2 separate regions of the Homo sapiens genome follow, and region 2 is linked to region 1. Evidence: promoter capture Hi-C in 16 types of primary human blood cells and fetal thymus (Javierre and others, 2016). All regions are on one chromosome and are shown on one strand. The core of a region is centred on a gene start or on the middle of the fragment in contact, and the rest is flanking DNA. Distances in the headings are between cores, read along the strand shown. Region 1 holds the start of CASKIN1 (CASK interacting protein 1). Region 2 overlaps CCNF (cyclin F).

Region 1 (4,165 bases), core at 1,546-4,045:
GCAACTTGAGGTCTTGGGACACACTAACCCCCATTCCTGTGGGGGGACAGTGGGTACCCAGGAAGGTCCCAGAACTGAGAAGGGCCTGGGGCTGGGGGCTGTTTTCACCTGGAAACGGGTTCTCTGGATGAAGCAGGAGCAGAGCATGGCTGGAGGGGGCCGGGGCCAGGATGAAAGTCCAGGAGCCCCCCTCCCTCTCCACGAGGTCCCTAAGCCCTGTGACTCTATGACAGTAAAGGCCTTACCCCCGACCAGCCCTCTCACTGCTATCCTGAGCCTGTCCCCACCTCTGGGGTCCAGTCCATATCCCAGGCTAGAAGGGAGCTACTAGTGGGCTATTAGAAGGTGAGAGGGGGATGGGGAGCTGGCCCTCGGTGCTCAGGGGTGTCCTCCACGGCATTCTTGGGCCTGCCTCCATGGACAGGGGGCCTCCATGGATAGGGTCCGGGTCAGAGGGAAGAGTGGGTCCCTCCTGGCCAGCAGGAGGCCAGCCCCTGCACCGGCATCTCCCCCAGAACAGGCTCCTCTTCCCCTCAAGGACAGCTGCTAAGTGTGTGCGTGCGGGCACGGGAGGCTCCCTTCAGGGCAGGGCGAGTCGGGGGCTGGCTGAGCCTGGGGTGACTCTGGAGCAGGGGCTGGAGGGAAGGGACTGGGCAACCAGAGGGGACCATGGAAGCAAAGCTCATGGGGACAGCCCTGGGCTCACGGGGCCCTGGAGGATACTGCTGGACACCCCCCACCTCGTGGCCCAAACTCAGCTGTACTTTACTGAATCAAAATACATCTTACTCCAAAGCAGGCCAGCGTTGCCATGACGACGGAGCTAATTCATGGAGGGATTTCTCCTCTGATTTATTACACCCGCCCCTGTGAGTCAGAGAGCAGGAGCCGGGGCCAGGGCAGGTGTCTCTCCTGTCCCAGAGGCCAGGCAAGACAGGCAGAGACCCAGGTGAGAGTGGAAGCCCCCACACCTCCCCAGAATGGCCACAATAGAAGGGAGGAGGAACCTCCCCAGAGCTGAAGCCCCCACTTCCCCAGCCCCTGGCCCTGGGCCGTCCAAGACTGCGGTCATTGCTGGCATTTACTGAGCACTTACTGAATGCCTGGGCTGCAAGTGCCCAGGCTCACTGGTCTTAGGACCCCACCGTGAGGCTGACATCCCATCCTACAGACGAGGAGACTGAGGTCCACTGAGCTGGAGTTGTCTGTGTCCAAGGTCATGCGGCCACTAGGTGGAAACCTTTACCTTGCCTTCCCTCAATCCCTACACCTGCTCTCCAGGCTCAGCTGAGGCTGCCTCTGCCCACAAGCTCTCCCTTTCTGAGCCCCCGGACCTGAAATCAGCTCGGGGCCAGCCTGCAAGGCACCGGTGCCCCCTCTCTCTTACTGCACAGAGTGGACAGGAGCTAGCCAGTCATGGGCTGCTGGTGAAGTACGGGGGAGGGGGTCCTCCTGGGACTCCTAGGTGCCCCCAACAATCTCCCAGAAGCCAGTCCCAGTTCTCGGCATCCCCCTGGAGGAAGGGGAGGGGGACTCTCTGGCTTACAGTCTGTGGGGGTGGAGGGAGGAGGGAGGACGCCCAGACCCCACGTGCCGACCTGCAGAGCCCTGTCCGTGCCCGCACAGGTGCCCTGACACACTGACACGGCTATACGTGCGCAGCCGCACACGCGGCTGGTCCACACGCCCATCCATCCATCTCCGGCGGCCCCCAGGGAGGCTACGCGCTGAGCCAGGATGAGTGCTGGGACCAGGGCTCCAAGCTCCCAGCCCTTTCCTGGGGCCGGCCATAGGGCAAGCTGGGGATGGCCAGTGGTGGTCCCCCACTCCCTCATGGCCTCCTTTCCCAGCAGGGAAGCTGGAGACCCGGCTCTGCTGGAGCCTGCCTGAGCAGGGCCCCAAGCCCTTGCGCCCAGGCCGGCCCTGCCTGGAGTCCAGCCTGCCCTGGGCTGGGCGACCTTGGGCCTCTGCTCTCCCATCAGTAAATGGCACCCCACCGGCCATGCCAGGGCAGCCACACCCCCAGCGTGGTCCTGCCCCCACCTTCCCTGCAAAGCGTGTTATTAAACGTGGGGCGGGAGGGGGTCTGCTAGGGACTGTCACCTCCCGGGTCGCCCCTCGCCGCAGGGGCCCCCTCCCTGTCTTCCCGGTGCGTGTGGTGGGTGGGGGGGGCATCCGCCTCGCCCTTTGAAGGCCCCAGCAGAGACCTCCAGCTGTCAGCCCGCAGCCTGGGAAGGGAGGGGGACAGAGGTAGAGAGAGAGGGATGCGAACGCCCGCGGCCCGGGAGGCGGGTGCCGCCAGGTGCCCGCTGCGGGGCTCACGGTGGCGGCCGGCTCTCGGGGCCGCCCCATCTCCAGTGCTGGGGGCAGCGGGTGGAGGGCACGGACCAAGGGTCTGGGCGCTGCTGGCCCCGCCCCGCCCCCGGGGACCCGACAACGTCCCCTCCCCGCCCGGCGCCGGGTGGGGGGCTCCGCGCCGGGGAGGGGCCCCCGGGGCTCCCACCCGCGCCCCGCGCCCCCGGCACTCACTGGCCTTCCCGGGCCGCGGCCTCTGCAGCAGCCTCTGCGCGGTCCCTACGTCCTCCGCCTTCACCGCCTGCACCAGCTCCTGCTCCTTCCCCATGGCGCGGCCGGGGCCGCAGCGACGCGGCTGCGCTCGTGAGCTCGGCGCGGCTCAGAGGCGGCGGCGGCCCCGCGGCACCGGCCGCCTCCCCCGCCGCCTCCCCCGCCGCCTCCTCGCCGCCCGCCGCCCCTTCGCCCTCCTCGGGCTCCGGCTTGGGCTCGGGCTCCCGGCGCGGAGGGGGCGGGGAGCGCGTCACGGGCGGGGGGCGGCCCGGGGGCGGGGGCGCGCGGCGGGCGCGGGGCGGGGGCGCGGCACCTGGCGCCGCCTCCCGGACGCCGGGGTCCGCTCCCGGGCCGCCGACCTCCGTCAGCCCGCGCCGGCCGCGCGCCCGGGCCCGTGGCTCCGCCCTCCCCGCGCCCGCCCCGGGACGCCCCCTCCCCACGTGCGCGCAGCGCGCTCAGGCCAGGCCTCTGCGGACGCGGGCGGCCTGGGGCTGCTAGCCGGGCTGGGGACGCGGCCGCCGGGGGTGCACTGGGAGCCCCGACGCGGCGGCGGCGCGGGGCTGAGCCCAGAGAGGCTTCCAGAGGCTGCGGGACCCGCGGGGGACGGTTCCGAGGCAGCGGGCGGGCGGGGACCGGGCGCCGAGAGACCCGGGCGCCAGTGCCCCTGGAGCCGGCCCGCCAGGCTGTCAGGCGTTCCTGGCCCAGGGTTCCCGTGGGAGGTGTCGAGGGATTGTGAAGAGGAATCTCCCAATAATGAATTCGGTGTCAGGGAACCCGCACCCCCAACCCCCAAGCATCCTCCTGCTCCTCTCCGCAAATAATGCGGGCGCCACAGCTTCCCCCAGCCTCAGTCCGAAGCCTGACCCCAAGGTAGCCCCCACCACCCCCACTGAGGGAGCTCAACTCCCCACTCCCCGCACCGACTGGGGGTCGCCTCCATCTCCATCCACAGGGGCTGGAACCTCCCGCCGGCACCAACCGACCCCCGGCCCACGTCTGCCCACTCTCCAGCCTGCAGCCCAGGCAGGCGAGTCCTGCTTCCTGGGTGCTGGAGGCCCCGACTTGTGACCCTCTGAGCTCCTGGCTGAAGGCTTGGGCCACCCTGCGCCTCAGGCCCTCTCCCGTCAGGCCTGCAGCATTCTAGAGGCAGATCAGTGGGGGTCTGAGTCCCGACTCAGGCTCCGTTTCCCTCATCACCCAAGCGGGCAAGGCCGTTTGGAGAATTTGGGGAGGGTCGCACCCATTCTATGAGGCATGGCCTGGCACCCCACTCTGTGTGGCCCCAGACCATTGAGCAGGTCCAGGGGGACAGAGGAGGTCAGACAGCAGGGACAGGGAAGGTGACAGGCACCGGGGTCCCGGCATCCTGTGGGCAGCTGGCCGTTCCCGTTCCCTCCGTGGGGTCTCCTGTTAGGTTCAGGTAGCAGCCCTTGGTCTTCCAGCACTCCTGGGAGGGGTCCCCAAATGCTAGGGCCTTTCCTCTTGCCCTTTCCAATGACCAGTTGAGTACCCGCTGGGTCAGGCACTGTGCTGGTCACCTCCTAGATGAGGTTGGACTCACTGTCCCCATTTTACAGATGAAGAAACTGAGGCTCAGAGA
Region 2 (4,334 bases), core at 1,831-4,330, 260 kb after region 1:
CACCAGAAGGGACATCACACAGAGGGTGGCTCTCACCGAGGGCCTCTGGGCACCCGGCCCTGTGCGAGCGCTGTGGGAGGAAGATGTGCACAGAGTGCGGGGTGGGGCCAGCTCCTGCCCCGCCGGGGAGTGTGTCCAGACATGGGGAGAGAGGAGGGGAGAGCCCCCAAAAGACCACAGCTGCTCCCACCACACAGGGATGAGAGGACTTAGGCCACACCTATCCGGCTCCTGCTCATTCCGTGTTGGGAGGACCTCACTAGGATGAGGGAGGCAGAGACCCTGTCTGGAGTTCATGGAGATCCTTCTAGGCCTGTAGTCTCATGCCTGTAATCCCAGCAATTTGAGAGGCTGAGGCAGGAGGATCACTTCAGGCTAGAAGTTCAAGACCAGCCTGGGTGACACAGCAAGACAAAAAATTTAAAAATTAGCTGGGCATCGTGGCGTGCGCCTGTGGTCCCAGCTACTCAGGAGGCTGAGGTGGGAGGATCTCTTGAGCACAGGAGGTGGGAGCTGCAGTGAGCCGTGATCATGCCACTGCACTGTAGCCTGGGCGTTCTTTCTAGAATGTTGTTTGAGGTGTGCCCACGTGGTATACGTGACACTCCTCACTGCCCTGCTGGGATCACTGCCCTGTGCAAACCCCAGGCAGACTGCGGGGTCCTTGCCAGAAGCCCAGTTAGTGTGAGTCCTGTCAGTTTCCCGGTTGCTTGCTTCTGCGTCCACTTGGCTTGAGCTAGATGGCCAACTTGTCATCTCCACATTTGTTGGAGTCATGGCGGGCAGCTGTCCAACTTGGAAGAGGCATGTCACCCACGCTTCTCACCACAGGAGGGTAACACAGGGGACCGTAGCAAGGTAGAAGATTCTTGACCTGGACTTCAGGGTCCTGACCTGGCAGGGGGTCTCCCCTGATGCTTGGGTGTGACATGACTTCCCTCCCCACCAACCTTCCTGCAGTGACAGCTCCCAGCGGCATCCTCGATGTCACCGTGGTCTACCTGAACCCAGAACAGCATTGCTGCCAGGAATCCAGTGATGAGGAGGCTTGTCCAGAGGACAAGGGACCCCAGGACCCACAGGCACTGGCGCTGGACACCCAGATCCCTGCAACCCCTGGACCCAAACCCCTGGTCCGCACCAGCCGGGAGCCAGGGAAGGACGTCACGACCTCAGGGTACTCCTCCGTCAGCACCGCAAGTCCCACAAGCTCCGTGGACGGTGGCTTGGGGGCCCTGCCCCAACCTACCTCAGTGCTGTCCCTGGACAGTGACTCGCACACACAGCCCTGCCACCATCAGGCCAGGAAGTCATGTTTACAGTGTCGTCCCCCAAGTCCCCCGGAGAGCAGTGTTCCCCAGCAACAGGTGAAGCGGATAAACCTATGCATACACAGTGAGGAGGAGGACATGAACCTGGGCCTTGTGAGGCTGTAAGTGTGTCAGCACATTTGCCGCAGTGGATGTGTACTGAGGGGGCTGGAGGCGAAGGGTGGGAGCATAGCATAGGAACGCTGCATAGACCATGGAGGCCTTTGCGCAGAGAGCAGAGAGGATGACTTGCGGCCACCAAGTTTCTGTCTCCGCGGGAGTCCCGTGCAAGCCATCAGAATGTTGAAATGAGGGTGAAGAGCTCAGATCCCTCTCTTTGGAAAGTTTAGCCTGGAAGCAGTTGGCCACACTGTGTGGAGGGCACCTCTCTGTCCCTTCCGTGTCTCACTGTCTCTGGAAGCTTCAGCCCATGTGTGTCCTGGTGTTCCCAGCCCCACCAGAGCCCCGTGCCGGGAGCTGACAGCTTTCACGCTTAAGGCACGTGTGACCTGGGTAGTCAGACACCACTTGAGCCCCTGCCCACATCTGCTGGTTTGGGGCTTCAGTGGGGAGCTGACAGCTGTGAGCACACCACTGTCCCCTCATCCACCTCGGCCTGCATGGGGCACCCACTTCCTTCTGGGTGGGGCTTCCATGGTAAGGGGGCCTGCGTCCCTGCACACTGCGAGGACTGCCTTGGCCACAGGCCCACTCCCTACGACACGTGACTCGTTTTAGAGCTCTGTCCCAGAGGCGTTCGTATGTGACCCACAGATGGCGTCAATGTGAACACCTCTCTTTGTGCTGAATTTCTGGGCCATTCTTTTCCTGTCTTATTTCTAAATTTCCTTCTTCCAAGATGAAAACAAAAGAAAAACTTAAAACAGAAGGTATTAAAAAAACAAGAGATTCCCACCATTATTTAGGTTCACCTGCAAAACAAAAATCTTACTCCAGCCCCTCAATGCCATCCTGACACACTTTATGCAAAAAGAATTTTCCCAGATAGGCTAGCCAGAAAAAACTTCAAGTCCTCTGTAACATCTGAGGTGACCAAGAGGCAGAAGAGCAGAGCAGTCGGGGGCCGTGTCCTGGCTGATCCCAACTGCAGCTCTGCTGTGGGGGCCCGTGGGAGGGAGGCAGACCCCTGGGCTTTCCTGCTGGCCACGGAGACTCTGCTCCTGCATGGAAAGGGAGCCTGGGAGCCAGCAGCCCACGCCTGGGGAGCCTGCCTGGGGCCATGTGACCATGGCCTCTCCCTGGGAACGGGCTGACCACAACACACCCTGCTGCCATCCACTTCTGTTTACTCTGCAAATGTAAGAAAGAACCACTTGGCCAGAAGTGTCCCCCAGATGCTTTTTTTTTTTTTTTTTTGGAGACAGTTTTGCTCTTGTCTCCCCGGCTGGAGTGCAGTGGCATGATCTCAACTCTCAACTCACTGTAACCTCCGCCTCCCGGATACTCCTGCCTCAGCCTCCTGGGTAGCTGGGATTACAAGCACCCAACCACGCCCAGCTAATTTTTGTATTTTCGGTAGAGACGGGATTTCACCATGTTGGCCAGGCTAGTCTCGAACTCATGACCTCAAGTGATCCGCCCACTTCGGTCTCCCAAAGTGCTGGGATTACAGGCATGAGCCACGGCGCCTGGCCCCCAAATGCTCTTGAACCGGAAACCCAGGGATGGGAGATGCTCACTGAGCTGCTGCTTTTATGTGTGCTGGTGCTATGTGTGTTCATGTCCGCGGCAGCTGTCTTTTTGCTACTATAAGGGAATTCTGGCCACCCTGGGTGGGGTGTGGTCGGGGTGAGAACCCAAGCGTTGGAACTGTAGACCCGTCCTGTCGACTGTGTGCCCCTGGGCATGTGTGAGCCTCAGTTTCCTCATCTGTAAGGGGGGCAATGATACCTACCTCACAGGGGTGTTGTGAGGATTAAATGTGAGGAGGATAGTGGCAGATGAGTGATGGACGTCCTTCACTGCCTCGGCCCCTTGTCCAGGGGCTCTTAATCCCAACTCTGCATGGAGTCAGTTCTCTGCTTTCTCCCAGCTTGCACCTGAAGGAGGAAACCACTCCAGGGGGACCTGGCCCCGCCTGCCTGTGGTGGGTGGGTTCCTGCATCACCCACCTGCTGACTGAGCATTTCCCTGCCTCCTCCTTCACAGAGAATCTCCAGGGAGGCAGGGCCACCGTCACCCTCCCCCACCGCTGATGGAGGGGCCCACCCGGAGCGCTGGGCCAGAGCTGCCTGGGTCCCAACCTCCCTGACAACTCCCTTTGTGCCCTCCTTCCCCTCTGCGATGGCACCTTCCCATTAACGACTATGGAATGGACTCACCTGTCCCATCTTTAAACAGCAACCCCAGGCTCTGTTTTTCTTTCAGCTACCGCCTGGGATTTCTTGCCCCCTAATTGTTTATTCTTGTTAACACCAACTACATGGGGCCCTGCTGCCTTCCTCACTTCCTCCCTCAGGTGTCCCCCGCATCACCGAAGGCCCTGTACCCCCGCCCCCCTGCTGTGCTGTGTACACCGCCGAGGCCTCAGCAGCACTTGGCCTGTGACCCACTCCCTCCCGTGACAGCCTCCTGTTGCCTCTGTGACACTGTCCTACTGCTCCTCCACCTCCCTGGCCATTGCGTGGGCCCCGTGATCTGTCCCTACCCGTCCCCTGCCCCACCAGGGGCCACCTCGCCTGGCCCACTGCTCCAAGGTCTGAGCTTCCTCCCCTCTGCCCAGTGCTATCACGTCACATGTCCAAAAGTGAACACTTTCTCCTCCTTCATCCCCGCCCCTGACACGCGGAATCCTCACCTCCAGCAACCCCGTCCTGTCCCTGTGCTCGGTGGCCCAGGCGTCAGCAAGACGGCTGGTCCCTGCGTTAAGAGCACTTTCAATAAGGACAGATGGAGCCTCTCGTATAACCTTCACCGGCCCCCTGCAAGAGAAGCGCGATAATGGCGCCCCCATCTACCCAGTTACCCAAACCAAAATCCCGGCGTCGCCCGCAGTCACCTCCC

The links. The method cuts DNA at HindIII sites, captures the fragments that hold promoters and counts their contacts. A CHiCAGO score of 5 or more calls a contact.
Region 2: a fragment that was not itself captured here is called in contact with the fragment with the promoter of CASKIN1 in region 1 in 1 of 17 cell types (fetal thymus); the score reaches 5.9 in fetal thymus.

Annotation. Positions count from the first base shown.
Region 1 is chr16:2,193,810-2,197,974 of GRCh38, forward strand. It overlaps CASKIN1 (CASK interacting protein 1), which reads right to left and starts at 2,796. Exons shown (of 20, transcript NM_020764.4): 1 at 2,530-2,796. The coding sequence starts at 2,623. The HindIII fragment of the contact is 37,961 bases long and covers 1-4,165 here.
Region 2 is chr16:2,455,585-2,459,918 of GRCh38, forward strand. It overlaps CCNF (cyclin F), which reads left to right. Exons shown (of 17, transcript NM_001761.3): 17 at 961-3,270. The coding sequence ends at 1,436. LOC105371050 (a long non-coding RNA gene) reads right to left here. Exons shown (of 5, transcript NR_188689.1): 1 at 4,330-4,334; 2 at 4,129-4,252; 3 at 3,226-3,370; 4 at 1,250-1,382; 5 at 482-1,001. Among named protein-coding and RNA genes, the nearest start is that of TEDC2, 2.4 kb to the right of the region's middle. RefSeq lists enhancers at 2,999-3,813, 4,044-4,133. The HindIII fragment of the contact is 2,703 bases long and covers 1,730-4,334 here.